2 separate regions of the Homo sapiens genome follow, and region 1 is linked to region 2. The links are contacts of gene promoters, found by promoter capture Hi-C in blood cells and fetal thymus (Javierre and others, 2016). All regions are on one chromosome and are shown on one strand. Each heading gives the region's core, a stretch centred on a gene start or on the middle of the fragment in contact. The rest is flanking DNA. Distances are from core to core; before and after follow the strand shown.

Region 1 (7,531 bases), core at 3,956-6,455, 960 kb before region 2:
ACATTAATTCTAACAACAACAACAACAAAAACCGCGTCTTACAAATAGTAGTGAAAACCTGGTAAAAAGTCAGTTTGTTCTGAGTATTTTTTAAAACATCCAAAGTAGCTTAGTATATTACAAAATTAACATTCATACTCCCTTATTTGTATAAGGAAAAGACGAGCCCCACACTAGTAAACAAGGCGTTTTCATCTAGGTTTCCCCAAAATGCAAGGACTTGAGACAGGGACTTGCATGCATGTGAGTCCTGGGAAGTGACCCAGGGGAACAGAATGGGGGACAGGGAAAAGTGAAACAGGGGAAGAGGGAAGGCCACCCTAAGGGGACTGTAGAGTAATCACCCCTGAGGGCTGAGGCTGGGGCCCAGAGGGGAACTTCTAAGGAGCCAGGTCAATTGAGGAGCCATGTAGATCCACCATCTCAAGGGGGTTGCCCCCTGGGATGGCAACTCCTTTGGATGTCCAGAAGTGCACAAAGGTCAGAATAGCTAAGCAGAACCCAGGTGGCGATGGCAGAGAAGCCTGGGGCAGAAAGTGGACTTGCGAGGTCTACACCTACCGGGGGTTGACACAGCAACAGCCAGGTAGGCACACGTCTTAGACAATACGTCTTATCCAATTTATCTGAAGGGTGAATTTTCACTTATTGAGTCAAATGTTTATTGGTGGGGGGTATAGGACATATAGTCCTTTCCCTTAAGTCTGGCTATCTAGACTAAGAATGCAAGAATGTGGTCAAGGGCTAGTGGAACATATTGCTTATGGTAGGTAATAAGGTTTTTTTGTTTTGTGTTTTTATGTTCACAATTATATTTGACAGTCACTTTTTTTAAAAAAGGTAACTTAAGGAAAGGTGGGGTGGGGACTCCAGAGCACTATGTGGATGACACATAAGTGTTGCCAGCAATTCAAATAAATAAAAATCGCCAAAATTTTGGTGATTCATGGGTGGAGGCTTCATGGAGGGTATGCTTGATCCGTGCCTCTAAGGTGTGCTATGATTAGAAAATGGGAAGCCTGTGTGGTTCAGGTGTGCAAGAGAAGGGGCAATTGCTCAGTTCCCACTGGGGTGGGGTGGAGTGGAGTGGCAGTTCTGGTTTGAGCCCAGTCTTCAGTATAAAGCCATTACTATTTCAGCACCATTTTCCTCAGATAACCAACTTTTATTGAGGATGAATGTTCCAGGCAGCAGTGTAAGCACTGTGTGTGTACTAACTGGCTTAATCTGTAACTCTTTGAGGGAAGTACTGTTAGTGTTTTACAGATGAGGGAAGTAACTTGCCTAAGGACACAAAGCTTGTTAAATGGTAAAACCGATACTCTAGAACCGGAGCAACCTGGCTCCAGAGCCCACATTTTTCACCCAAACGCTATACACTATGGCCTCTCAGTAGAGAGAAAAACAGAGCAAGGGAAAGAAGGGTGCCATCTGATTCATCTGCATTTAGGGACATATGGCTGGGAAAGGTCCAAAGGGCCGAGGTCCCAAGGGAAATCATTCTGTCAAGCAGCTGGAAGTCCTAATGGCCTCAGAACCATTTCCCAGAGAGTACACTTCCACAGCTGAGGTCATCAGAGAGCAGCACAGAAGGCCTTTCAGAAGGTTACCACCCATGACTTACTTGATGGTGATGTCCCTGGAAGCTCATCACCAGTGAGTAGGAGAATTCACTCTGACTTCAATTCATTGTGGCTGCCTAACTCTTATCTCTCTCTGTCTCTGTCTCTGTCTCTCTCTCTCTCACACACACACACACACACACACACACACACATCATTCTACTATGCCCAGCTAGAATCAGAGCAGGCCAAATAGAGGGAGAAAAATCCTTACAGACAGGGATACAATTTTAAAAATAAAGACTTGGCTTCATAGTAGATTCCTTGACTAGGAATCTAGCCAACTGTTATTCAAAATATTCACTGCCCTCCCTAGAGGGGGATTTACTTCCCCAGCCCAAGGGTCTTTCAGAGCCACTCTTTACAGGAGGATTCTCTATCCTCATTCTTTTGAATTTAGGAATGACCATTTACTTTGGCCAATACAATCTGCATGGAAGTGACCCATCTAAGAGCTTGAGAAGCCAGCTCTTGAGAAGCCAGGGTTCAGCATGTCTCTTTGTCCTCTGCCACCAGGCTGGCAATGCCCAGATAGAGGATACTCCCTCAGCCTGGGTCCTGGAGGCAATGCAGTATGCAGCAGACCTCCGAGGGTGGAACAGCTGCATGAGAAATAAACCCTTGCTATGTAAGCCACCAAAACATGGGGCCAATTTGTTACCGCAACATAATTTAGCTTAACTGACTGAATCAGATGGGAGGTCTGTATGCATGTTGGTCTAAAAGCCTTTGGTTCCAAAGCCTAGCTCTCCCACAAATTTGCTGTAGCAGATTAACTGACAACTTCTTCCTGTCTCATTTTCCTTCTCTATATTACTTCTCAGGTATTTTGTGAGTATAAGGTGAGATAATTGTCTTGACAGTAATTTGAATTGAATAAATTTGAAAATCAAGATGCTGAACAAGCTTCCCGTGCACAGAAGTTTTTGGTCAAGCCTTTTGCCCTCCAACAGCAGGTCAGAGTAAGTTTAATGAGTACCTTAATGAGATTCACAAAATTTATACTGGTATGAAGACAGTACTCAAAGAGATGAGATAACTAAAACAGCATGAAGTCTTAAGTAAACCCTGGCTTTTAACAGACTCTTCTCCTGTTTTCATAAAATCCAATGAGTTTTTAATTTCCTTTTTGGAGAACACTGATTGCCACTTGAAGTCCAAGGTGGAAAGAGTCCTACCATCTTCCCCCCCAGCCCCACCACACTCTTCAGGACTCAGTTGCTTAGGTCTAAGAAAATAATAACTTCTAGTTCTGAATCCTGAGGAAAGGCTCAATGCATAAAACTGGGCAGAGGAAGATCTAGCATTGTCGTTGTCATATGTTGTCACTGGACTCTCCTTCTCTGTGTCCTCTGTCAGTCTTCATTTCCTCTATTCTTTAAGGGTTCAATTTGGGCATGAAAGGAATCAACTCCCCTGATCGTTTCTCAACTCTCCTATTGAATCCTGAAGAATTAGTAGTCTGCAGATTTTCTTTGTCTTCCTTCAACCAATTTCAAGGATCTGAGATATCTTAAGTTATGGGCAAAGGGTGGATGGAATATAAAGCATTTAAAGAGCTACACAGTAAATACATGCCTATAAAGAATGCACTGCACAACTGAGTCTCTTCCCACCTCCTCAGCCTCTTGTCTGTCCACTCTCCCTACCCAACCCTAAGGCTGACGTTCCTGCTACATTGGATTTCTTAAGAGTCTCTCCCTCACTTCCAGAGCTTGGCACATGCTGTTTCCTGGGCTTGGAACACTTCCACAACCACCTCCCCATCTCCCTTTCCTTGCTAAATCCTATTGCTTACTCAGCCTATAGAGAGATTTCATGAGAGCAGCAAAGACTGCAGTCAAGTACTCACCAACATAATTTCAGCACCTGCATATAGAAGGTACACAAGAAATGTCTGATAAAACAGGTGGGTTGGAAAGGCAAGAATGAGTACTGATGTGTTAGGGTGTTGAGGATTATTTTGTTTTTCAATCTCTAACCTATCCACATTATTGTGCCTCAACTTCTATAAGAGAAAAAAAATCAATTCTTCCCAAAGGAATGTTATTATCAAAAACAAGTAGGTAAATTTTAATGTTATGCTATATATATTTTCATTTCCTTTTTGTACAATAAAAATGCAAAAAAAAATAAATAAATAAATAAAAAAGAAATCACACACAGACAAGAACAAACAAAGCTCCCACTTGTCAGAAAAATGGTCCTTTTAGAATATGGTCTCTTTCCCACCTCACCACCTCAGCCTACCCCTCTCTCAATGTTTCACACTCCATCCTACCCAGTCACAGTTCAGCAGGTGGGCAGAATGTGTCCACAGAACTGGACTTCCTGTGCCATTTGGCTTGAGCGATGTGCTCACACTCATTGGCGTCGATCCTAAAAAGAGGTGGCTCTGGTGCCTTGGCTTTGTCATATCAGGGAACAGACTCCTGATTTCTATCTCAGGTCAAGCCTGGAACAATGTGAATTTCATTTTAGATCGCCCAGCAAATTCCTTTTAGAAGTCTGTCTCTATTACCTTAGCCCAAGTATTGTTTTTATGTTCAACAGCTGCTGCATTGATGGGCTGCCAGCAGGCATGAGTGGGTCAGGGGAAGTATTGTTATTTGAGAGTTTTCTGTCAATCCAGATTTTTAAAAAGGGGGCGGGGGAGGTTATCAATTATATTGTAAAGTAGATCTCCTTGGAAAAAAGTATAGAAGCTTTAGATGTGTTGGGTTTCATTTAAATAATGGTTCAGCTTTGCTAACCCCATTTGAGACAGGTCTAGCTAAGACTATGAAAGATGGATCCCAATAAAATGATAAAATCCAAGAGCAGCGTCTATCCCCAACCAAATTTAGAGTCCTATAAAGAGAAACACAGGCACAGAAAACTCTGTGGGCTGCGCCACAGTCTAAATCCGATGATCATGATCAGTGTGACATCATCATTGGGTAGAATATAAACACTTGGTCTGCTGGCAATCAATCAAGTAGGCCATCCAAATCAAGGAAACAGCAGAGTCCCACAATCATTTGTTCCTTTTGCAGACATAGGATGGCCCATGCCCAAACACTAAGCATCCACTTCCTTCATTTTAAGAGTATTATTCAAATGGTCACACAGGACTCATTCAGGCACACAGTTTGGTTTCTAGGTGGCAGTTTATACAAGATGGGTTATGTCTGCTCAAAAAAGTGGTGAAATAGACTAAACACCTAAGAACTATTATATCAGGATAGTGGGTTATGGGCAGTTTTGTTCTTTTAATCAATTCCTTGGGTCTCCTTTTCACTGTAATGTAGACACATCATTTTTAAAGATGATAATTTAAAAGATAAATTAATCTATAACTTTCGAAAGATTTTAAAAGGAGAGATTATTGTACCTCAGAAACTTCTTGCATTCCTTAATAACTGCTTATAGAGCCTCAGTATGTATAATTTATATCACTGACTAAAAAGTTCTAATTTTTGAAAACTGACCTGAGATGACAGTCCCTTTATTGTTTAGGTGGCCCTCCCCTGGACCTTTCTTGGCTCCATTCATGTTTCTCCAGGCACACCGACCACAGCCATCCATCTGGGGCCACATTTTCAAGTCACAAAAATGGCAATTTTATAACAAGGGAAAGTAACATTTTATTGGCAGTACTCCTCCACTTCCCACACTCCCTGCCCTCATCTTTAAGAATTGCCTATAATTATCCCCAGACAGATATGATCCTTCACCTGAATCATATTTGCTGAGTCAGCAATAGGCATATAATTCCTTTTCTCCCTAAATGATTTACACATTTACACTGAAGTCTGTCACTTTAATACACCAAATCTCTCAAACAATAAAGCTCCTGGTAAGAAGAAAACTTGTCCACTGCTATATCCCCAACACCTAGAACAAGTTCCTGACACATAGCAGGTGCTTAATAAATGGTGTTAAATGAGCAAATGGAAACTTGGTTTTCCATTTCCTTCAGCTCAACAGATAAAACAGCAATTAAGTGCATTTCTTGAAGGATATCATAGGGAAATCTCCACCACCAGTGAAGTTTAAACACATATTTTTTGTTAGGGATAAAGTAAGAAATATTTCTGCACTGGGGAGCAGGCTAACCCAAATGACCTCTAACGTTCCTTTCAACTCCTAGAGTTTTTAAACTGATGAACACCACAGCTTAGGAGAGGCCATCAGCTACATAAAGCCTGATTCCCAAGTAGAGTAAATTGCCATGTTCTGTTTAAAATAAAGATAATAGCTGCCCCGGGATTTGGACGCAAAAATGCTAATTCATCCAAAATGCAGACACATCCCTTGGGAGTAAAATGTTCTTGCTAATCATCAGTTATACTAGGCAAACAGCAGATGTGCTTCAGGGTCTTCTTAGGGCTAAGCCCAAAAACCATCAGTGGGGAAATGGAGAAGCTAGGGATCAAAATTAAAACTGAAATAAACAGTATCACACTAAATTGAAGCTTTGTTTTGCAGTCAACAACAAATCCACTTAAGAAACTTACCTGAATTTAGCCTTGAGGTTTGAATGGTTTGTAACAGAATATAACCATTTCATAAGATAGAAAATAGTGCATTTGACATGTAAGCATTTTTGCCCACTAAAATGTCATATTTACCTGGGATATCACACTCAGATGTTCCCATTCAAGAATATCAAAAATTTAGGGTAAGTTATTCAGATTGCATTTTTCTTCAGTCTGGCGGGGAGAGGTAGTTATCGCAAAAGGAGATATATGTCCTAAATAACTTTTTAAAAAATCTAATTAAATACCTAGGGAAATTCCATTCACACATAAATCAACTTCGGAGTGGTTCTTTTCCCTCAGCGCACCCTTCCTTTCTTTTGGTGAAATCACAGACTAGATAAGAAATGGGAGGGCCAGAGAACTCTTAACTTTAAAGGTGCAGTGTAGATTCCATGGAGCTGTGTCTCAAGAGTCTTCCCCATTCATTGACTTTGTTTTAAAGCCATAACTGCAGAGACCACACTTAAGACAATAGCCCAATGAACAAAGTGAAAGGATTCAACAATTATCTGTGAAATGTGATCACATATTTTCTGTAGACTTTCTAACTTTATAGTCAATTCCTAATCACTCGTACATTAGGTTTCCAAAAGAAAAGTCTTCTGTCTTTAGATTGTAATTTAATTTTAATTCCAGTGACAACAGAGTGCGCAGAAAGAAGTCACTTCCTCTGTGCACGTATACTTAAAAAAAATCTCCTCTATTATCTGAAGAGGGAGGTCTAACATAAGAATTCTGTGGGATTAAGCTCACATATGGTTGGCCGACTTGGTGTTGGATGTGATTACGGCCACACAACTAAACCTTAAATCCACATACTGTTCCTATTTAACTGACATATATGAACTAATTTATAGAAAATGTGCAGCTAATTATTTCTTCCACCTCCTCCATCCCTCAAGAATGCACCAGCAATAATACGTGTTACTGAAAAAGCCAAACACCCCCACTGAATATTTGCAATCCTAAACGTTTGCCAATTTATCTAAAGCAGATATTGTTATTTTAGTTCTCTGAATCTATGCCTGCTAATAAGTATAATGGGGGGCAGGGGGAGGAGTAATTTAACCAGATAAATTTCACCTCTATAGACCTCAATTTTCTCACCAAAAATAAAACGACTAGCCCAGAGACTATGCAAATTCCCTCAGTAACAATAACCTACATGTGACCACTAATTATCAAGAGCACAATTTATGTGCAAAAGAAGACCAGAATTCTTAAAAGAGCCATGTCATTAAATCGTAGAGTTGAAAAGGCCTAAAAGACAGTCATGATTCGATATGACCGCTGTGTTTTCTGACTGCAGAAAACGTCTTTGAAAGCACCGCGGGCAGCCGAACCACCAAATCGAATTAGAATCCGCAAAGGGACCCATGAACTTCT
Region 2 (6,941 bases), core at 3,886-6,385:
AAGAAAATGCAATAAAAAATTAAATTAGCTTTAAGGACTATAATTCTTTATGAGATTTCTGTTTAGTTTGTGGGCATGTCAAATCATGTAATTTTCCCGTTAACAAGAAAAGCATGAGCTCCCTCTAGTGGCTAATCTAACAGTTTTTTTAAACAATAGGCCAAACATCGCAGCTCCCACCTGTAATCCCAACATTTTGAGAGGCTGAGGCGGGAGGATCACTTGAGCCCAGAAGTTTGAGACCAGCCCAGGCAACATAGCCAGACCCACCCACCCGGTCCCTCATTTCTACAAAAAAATTTAAAAATTAACCAGGCATGGTGGTGCACACCTATAGTCCCAGCCACTTGGGAGACTGAAGCAGGAGGATAGTTTGAACCCAGGAGGCTGAGGTTACAGTAAGCCATGATTGTGCCACTGAACTCCAGCCTGAGTGACACAGCAAGACCCTGTCTCAAATAATAATAATAATAAAACAATATATTTTAATCAGAAAAGGATGAAGACATGACTGGCTTTTCCGAACACAGTCAATATCATTGGTTTCTAATGAGAAAGGTAATAACAAGGATTCACACGTTAGTCACTTACTGATTTTCAGGTAAATTTTATCTGCGTTTGTCCAAGATATTTTAAGTTCCTGCTTTAATAAATCACACAGTTGAAGAATTGGAAGTCATTAGAGATTATCCATGCATTCATTCATTCATTCAACAAATATTAACTGATTACCTATTATATGCATGCATTGCTCCAAGTGTACAGGATAGACAATGAACAAAACAGTCTTCATTAAGCTCATATTCTAGTGCATAAAGACAGGCAATAAACAACTAAACTAGTAAGTATACGATATATCAGAGACGGATAAGGGCTTTGGAGAAAATGAAGCAGGGGAAGGGAGTGTGGGGTGAGCAGAGGGCTGTGAGGTCAGGGAAGACATCTCTAATAAGTTGTCATTTGAGCAGAGACTTGACAATGAGAGAGCAAGGCTTGTGGCACTTGAATCAGAGGAAACAGCAAGTGTGAAGGCCTGAAGTTTGACACATTTAAGGCAGCTAGGGGATCATTGCAGGGTTGAAGGGGCGCAGAGTAAGCAAAGGGGAGAGTGATGGGAGAGGAGCCCAGTGAGATAGTGTGGGGTCAGATCATATAAGGTTTTGGGCTGCTATAACAAATTACCACAGACTCGATGACTTCAACAACAAACATTTATTCCTCACAGTTCTGGAGGCTGGCAAGTCCAAAATCTAGGTGCCAGCAGATCTAGTATCTTAGTATTTGATGAGGCACTCTTCTTGATTTGCAAACAGATGTTTTCTCGTATCCTCACATGGCAGAGATCAGAGAGAAAGGAGGTAAGCTTTCTTGTGTCTCTTCTTACAAGGATGATAATCTCATCATGAGGACTCCACCTTCATGAACTAATTACCTCCTAATACCATCCCATTGGGGGTTAGGGTTTCAACATATGAATTTGGCGGGACACAATCATGCAGTTCATAACAGCCTTCTATGCCACTGAAGAACTTCAGCTTTTACTCTGAGTGAGAAGGGAAGTTGGAAGAATAACCTGATCCATTTAAGGCTCTCTCTGACCACTACATGGAAATACAGTGTAAGAGGGTAAGGGAAAATGCAGAGAGACCAGTTAAAGGTCAGTTACCAAGTATGTTTCCAGGAGAAGGGAGAGACCAACTGTGTCCAATGCTGCAGGTTAAGTTAAATAATGAAAATTGATGTGATTGGTGATCTTGATAAAAAACAGTTTCAGTGGAATGGTAGAAGCAAAAGATTGATCGGCAGTTTCTTAAAAGTTACACGTAAACCTATCATATTGATCCAGTTATTCTATTCCTAGACATTTACCAAGATATTTATGTCCACATAGAGACTTGATGGCACGACATGGTGGCTCAAGCCTGTAATCCCAACACTTTGAGAGGCCAAGGCGGGAGGATCACTTGAGGCCAGGAATTCAAGACCAGCCTGGACAACATAGTGAGACCCTGTCTTTTATATATATATATATATTTTTTTTTTTTTTTTTTTTTTTTTTTGAGACGGAGTCTTGCTCTGTCACCAAGGTTGGAGTGCAGTGGTGCGATCTTGGCTCACTGCAACCTCCACCTCCTGGGTTCAACCGACTCCCCTGCCTCAGCCTCCTGAGTAGCTGGGACTACAGGTGCGCGCCACCACGCCCGGCTAATTTTTTGTATTTTTTAGCAGAGACGGAGTTTCACCATGTTGGCCAGGATGATCTCGATCTCCTGACCTCGTGACCCGCCGCCTCGGCCTCCCAAAGTGCTGGGATTACAGGCGTGAGCCACTGAGCCCAGCCAAAAATATATTTTTTTAAATTAGCTGGGCATGGTGGCACACCACCTGTAGTCCCAGCTACTAGGGAGGCTGAGTTTAGGAGTTCAAGGCTGCAGTGAGCTATGATCATGCCACTGCACTCCACCCTTGGTGACAGAGCAACACCCTATCTCTTAAAAAGAGACTTGAACATGAATGTTCACAGCCAAAACTGGAAACAACCCAAATATCCAGCAACTAGTGAATGGATAAACAAATTGCAATATGTCTATATGATGGAATACTACTCAGGAATAAAAGGAGTGAACTATTGATACATACAACACCATGGATACATTTCAAAATAATTATGCTAAGTGAAAGAACCTTGACCTCAAATAATAGGTACTGTATGATTCCATTTGTATACAATTCCAGCAAACACAGACATATCTTTGGTGACAGAAAGCAGATGTGTGTTTGTCTGGGGATGATGAGGCACAAGGAACGTTTGGGGATGATGGATATAGTCATTATTTTGATTGTGATGATGGTTTTATGGGTACATACATATGTCAAAACTTATCAAATTGTTCACTGGGTAGTTTGTTGTACATCAATTATATCTTAATAAAGCTATAAAATAAATACATTATAATTTTAAAAATAAAGGATGGAATTTCACATGAAAGCAGAGATGTTGGCCTTAGATACCCAAATTATTTAACATCTGAAAAATATATATTCAGTTAGCCACTCTTAGTCTTAGAGTTCTCATTTATCAAAAACAAATCCTGCCTTCCATGCTGCTGGAGGTAAAATGAACTGACCTATATGCCCTCCTTAGAATAGCAATTAAAGCCTTTCATATCAGGACAATATAACCTTCTCAGCTCTTTCCCTGCTGCACCCTGCCCTCCCAGCCTTTAGTCACACCAAACTTATGGCTATTGTTTCAATACACCAGACATTTTCAAGTACCTGTACGCAGTCTTTTTTCTTTTTTTTTTTTTTTTGAGACAGGGTCTCACTGTATTGCCCAGGCTGGTGTGCAGTGCTTCACTGCAACCTTAACCTCCTGGGCTCAAGCAACCCTTTTGCTTCAGCCTCCTCAGTAGCTTGGACCACAAGCCTGTGCCACCATGCCTGGCTGATTTTTCAACTTTTTGGTAGAGATGGGGTCTCACTATATTGCCCAGGCTAGTCTTGAACTACCCAGCTCAAGTGGTTCTCCCACCTTGGCTTCCCAAAGTTCTGGGATTACAGGCTTGAGCTACCACACTTAGCCAGATTTTGTTTTGAGAATACTTTTTTTGCCCTCACTAAAACAACCTAGCCAAAAAATTTTAATTTAAATCTATGCTTTTTAAAAAAGATTTATTGCTGACATTTATTTCTTAACTTCACAGGTAACTGATTTGATAATTAATAAATAAGTCATTCTCCAAAAGCAGCTGAATAACATGGTTTGTGAAGCATTCTTTATTTTGTGTGCAGGTGTGATTACAGAGTTGTTTTGTTTGGGGCTCATTTTATCATCGTCACAGATGAGGTTGGCGTTCTATAAAATTGCTTTGGTTAAGCAGAACCCTATTGTCTGGCTATTTTGCCAGACCAGCAACCAGCTACCAGCTGTTAGGCTATGTTTTTTCTCATGTAGTTACAATCAAGACTGTCTAGATTGAAATCTCATCTTCCTCACAGGCTATGAATTGAGGCAGTCAACTTCCCTGAGCTTGTTTCCTCTTCTGTAAAATGTAGATAACAATAGCACCTATTTTAGAGGGTTGTTCTGAGGATTAAATAAGTTAATACAAGTGCTTGGAATAGTGCCTGGCACAGGGTGGGTAATTAGGTTTTTTTTTCTCTCTCTCTAATTCACAACACCCTACCTCATTCATTCAACCCTTATTGATTTTTTACACCTTGAGATTGTAGAAATGTATTCTCCTCTTCGAATTACCAGGATCTGAATTAAAAACTCTGACTGAGGAGTGCTTACAAAGCTTATAACGATGGTTGAATTTTAACGATTAATTGCATTTATTAATGGTCAACATGATCACATTTTATCCAGCCCTCTTTTCCCTTGTATGGGTCACGCTAAGTTGAAACAACCAAAACCAAAATAAAAACATATCTAAAATCATACACATTAACTTATATGACCCTCGTTGCTCTTTTTTCCTCCTAAGAGGGAATAGTGTTATCTAGCGCCACGGTTCTTTTCAGTTTTGTTTTGTTTTGTTTTGTTTTTTATACGGAGTTTCGCTCTTGTTGCCCAGGCTGGAGTGAAATGGTGCAATCTCGGCTTACCGCAATCTCCGCCTCCTGTGTTCAAGCGATTCTCCTGCCTCAGCCTCCCTAGTAGCTGGGATTACAGGCATGCGCCACCACGCTCGACTAATTTTGTAATTTTAGTAGAGACGGGGTTTCTCCATGTGGATCAGGCCGGTCTCGAACTCCCGACCTCAGGCCCGCCTTGGCCTCCCAAAGTGCTGGGATTACAGGCGTCAGTTTCTAATTTTAGACTGCGGGATTAAAAATAAACGATTAATCCTCATTTATGTGCTTCATATGGGTGTCGGAATGACGATACATGCTAACACACGTGAAAAAATTTACATTTCAGATCCTTTCAGAAACGCAAGGCAATATTAAGTAGTAGCATATGCCCAAGGGCGAGGGGCGGGTCGGCGGTGGCTGGCTCTCCAATACACCACAGAGTATTTTGGCAACGAGAGTAATTTTGACACTCTGAGGCTTCCGTAGCATAGCTCGCTTTAGGAACCGCTAAGGTGTCGCCTGCCTAGAGTCCCATGCGCTATTTCCGGTCATACCCGGAAACACGAGTCCAAGCTGCAGCTGGCAGGGATTGCGGGGTGCCGGCCGTCTGAGTTTTTTTAAAACTGCTCGCCGCGAAGTCTGTCTGCAGCCAAAATGTCCAACAGAAACAACAACAAGCTTCCCAGCAACCTGCCGCAGTTACAGAATCTAATCAAGCGAGACCCGCCGGCCTACATCGAGGAGGTGGGAGTGCGGCGCGGCAGACGCTAGAGGCCGGATAGTGGATGGTTGAGACGCCGGTGCGGGAAAGCATGGAGTGGGGCTGGGATCCAGGCTCGCCGCCTATTCTTCTGTTAGGTTCAGGGGTCCCTCCAGAGGAGAGAAGGGGTTGGGGACGGGACATGCCTTAGGGTTCGTTCCCCACCTCTTGAAAATCTGTTGCCCCTTTGGATTTTCTACCTGCCCTGCTGCCGCTGAAACACCTTTAAAACCTCATTTTGTTTTAAGATATTTTTCTTCGTCCGCACGGAAGTGGAGAGAGAAATGGGCCGCACCCAACCACCAACTTCCACGCGGATTTCTCAGCCTCTTTTCAGAAATCCCAAACTTGAATTAGTCGGTAACCTTTGATGAATCGTATGTTAGAATGCTTTCGATTGACGTCCGTTTCTGAGAGCAGGCTGTGTACCCTGGACTGTGCCAGGAAAGGGGGGGGGGGGGTTTCTCAAGCACAACGGACAGACTCGGGAGCTTAGTATATTTAGTTAAGCCAGGATTCAAACTTACCGGAGACTGGCATGACTCGGATGTCAGAATTTGCTTCGGGAAAAGATTAGGTTGAAAAATTAGGCCCTCATTGTGATGGGCTTTGTGTACTGACCTCATGTAAGTTGTGAACATTAGGGGTGTTTGAACCAAGTACCGACAAAACGAAAGTGGTTTTTGATATATTAATCTGACAGGTGCTTCCTTCAGACACTCATTTATCAGACGGGCATTAAACAGGTATCTCTGCTAGGCATTTGCTGCAATTACATGTTTGTGCTTCTACCAGATTGTGATTTGTTCAGTGGCTAACACAATTACTTATTTTTTCATTGCCCTTCTCACTTCCCTCCTCCCCTAAATTTTCACATATATGTATTTTATGAGTGCTTTTTAACACATGGCAATCTCAGTGGCTTAGGTCACCAGTAGAGAAAGCCTCTCCAAGGATCAAGGTAGTGGAAATAAAGAGTAGGAAACAAGTACAAGAAGTTAAGTAACATAGGCAAGGCTTTGAGATGCTTAAAGCATTGTATAGCCATTCGCAAAGAAAGTGGTAAGTTGAGAGTCTATATAATTCCGTTAGATAACTCCTGCTGCTGACTGTTGTTAACCAGTTGTGTAACCGAAGCAGGTTAATCGCTGAGCCTATGTGGGTATTTTAATATGTAAGAAGGGGGTAATAACTACTTCTTTAATTCACTTAAGTATATATGCAAAATCACATATAACTACTGTGTGTTGTTATTCTAGGTAGGCGTTGGGGTACAGTAATGAATAAGACAGATAAGAAAGCATTCTTCTCTTGGACTTACATTCAAGTGAGTGTAGACTTATTATGGTAGAGATTATGAAGAAAATAAAACTGGATGGGAATAGGTTAGAATTGGAGGCTTCTGATTTAGACCCCGTAAACAGGGAAGGTGGCTCTGCAATGATGATATTGAGCCAGGCAGGTAAACATCATTTTAGGTACAAGGAATAGAAAGTGCAGAAGCTACTGGTGGAAAAAAAGCAGAGAAGAAGCCAGTGTAGCTAAAGTGTAGTCAGCATAGAAGAGGGCAGTGGAAGATGATGTAGGAAATGCAGGC

What was found. Contacts are between HindIII fragments. The CHiCAGO score rates a contact against its expected background, and 5 or more counts as called.
Region 1: a contact is called between a fragment that was not itself captured here and the fragment with the promoter of SDAD1 in region 2, in 2 of 17 cell types (total CD8 T cells and activated CD4 T cells). The highest score is 5.8, in total CD8 T cells.

The regions. Positions count from the first base shown.
Region 1 is chr4:76,951,208-76,958,738 of GRCh38, reverse strand. The region is part of intron 1 of SEPTIN11 (septin 11); the gene reads right to left. It also overlaps the pseudogene TXNP6. Among named protein-coding and RNA genes, the nearest start is that of SEPTIN11, 5.2 kb to the right of the region's middle. The HindIII fragment of the contact is 1,752 bases long and covers 4,330-6,081 here.
Region 2 is chr4:75,989,139-75,996,079 of GRCh38, reverse strand. It overlaps SDAD1 (SDA1 domain containing 1), which reads left to right and starts at 5,135. Exons shown (of 22, transcript NM_018115.4): 1 at 5,135-5,328. The coding sequence starts at 5,239. The region is part of intron 1 of SDAD1-AS1 (SDAD1 antisense RNA 1); the gene reads right to left. The HindIII fragment of the contact is 958 bases long and covers 4,307-5,264 here.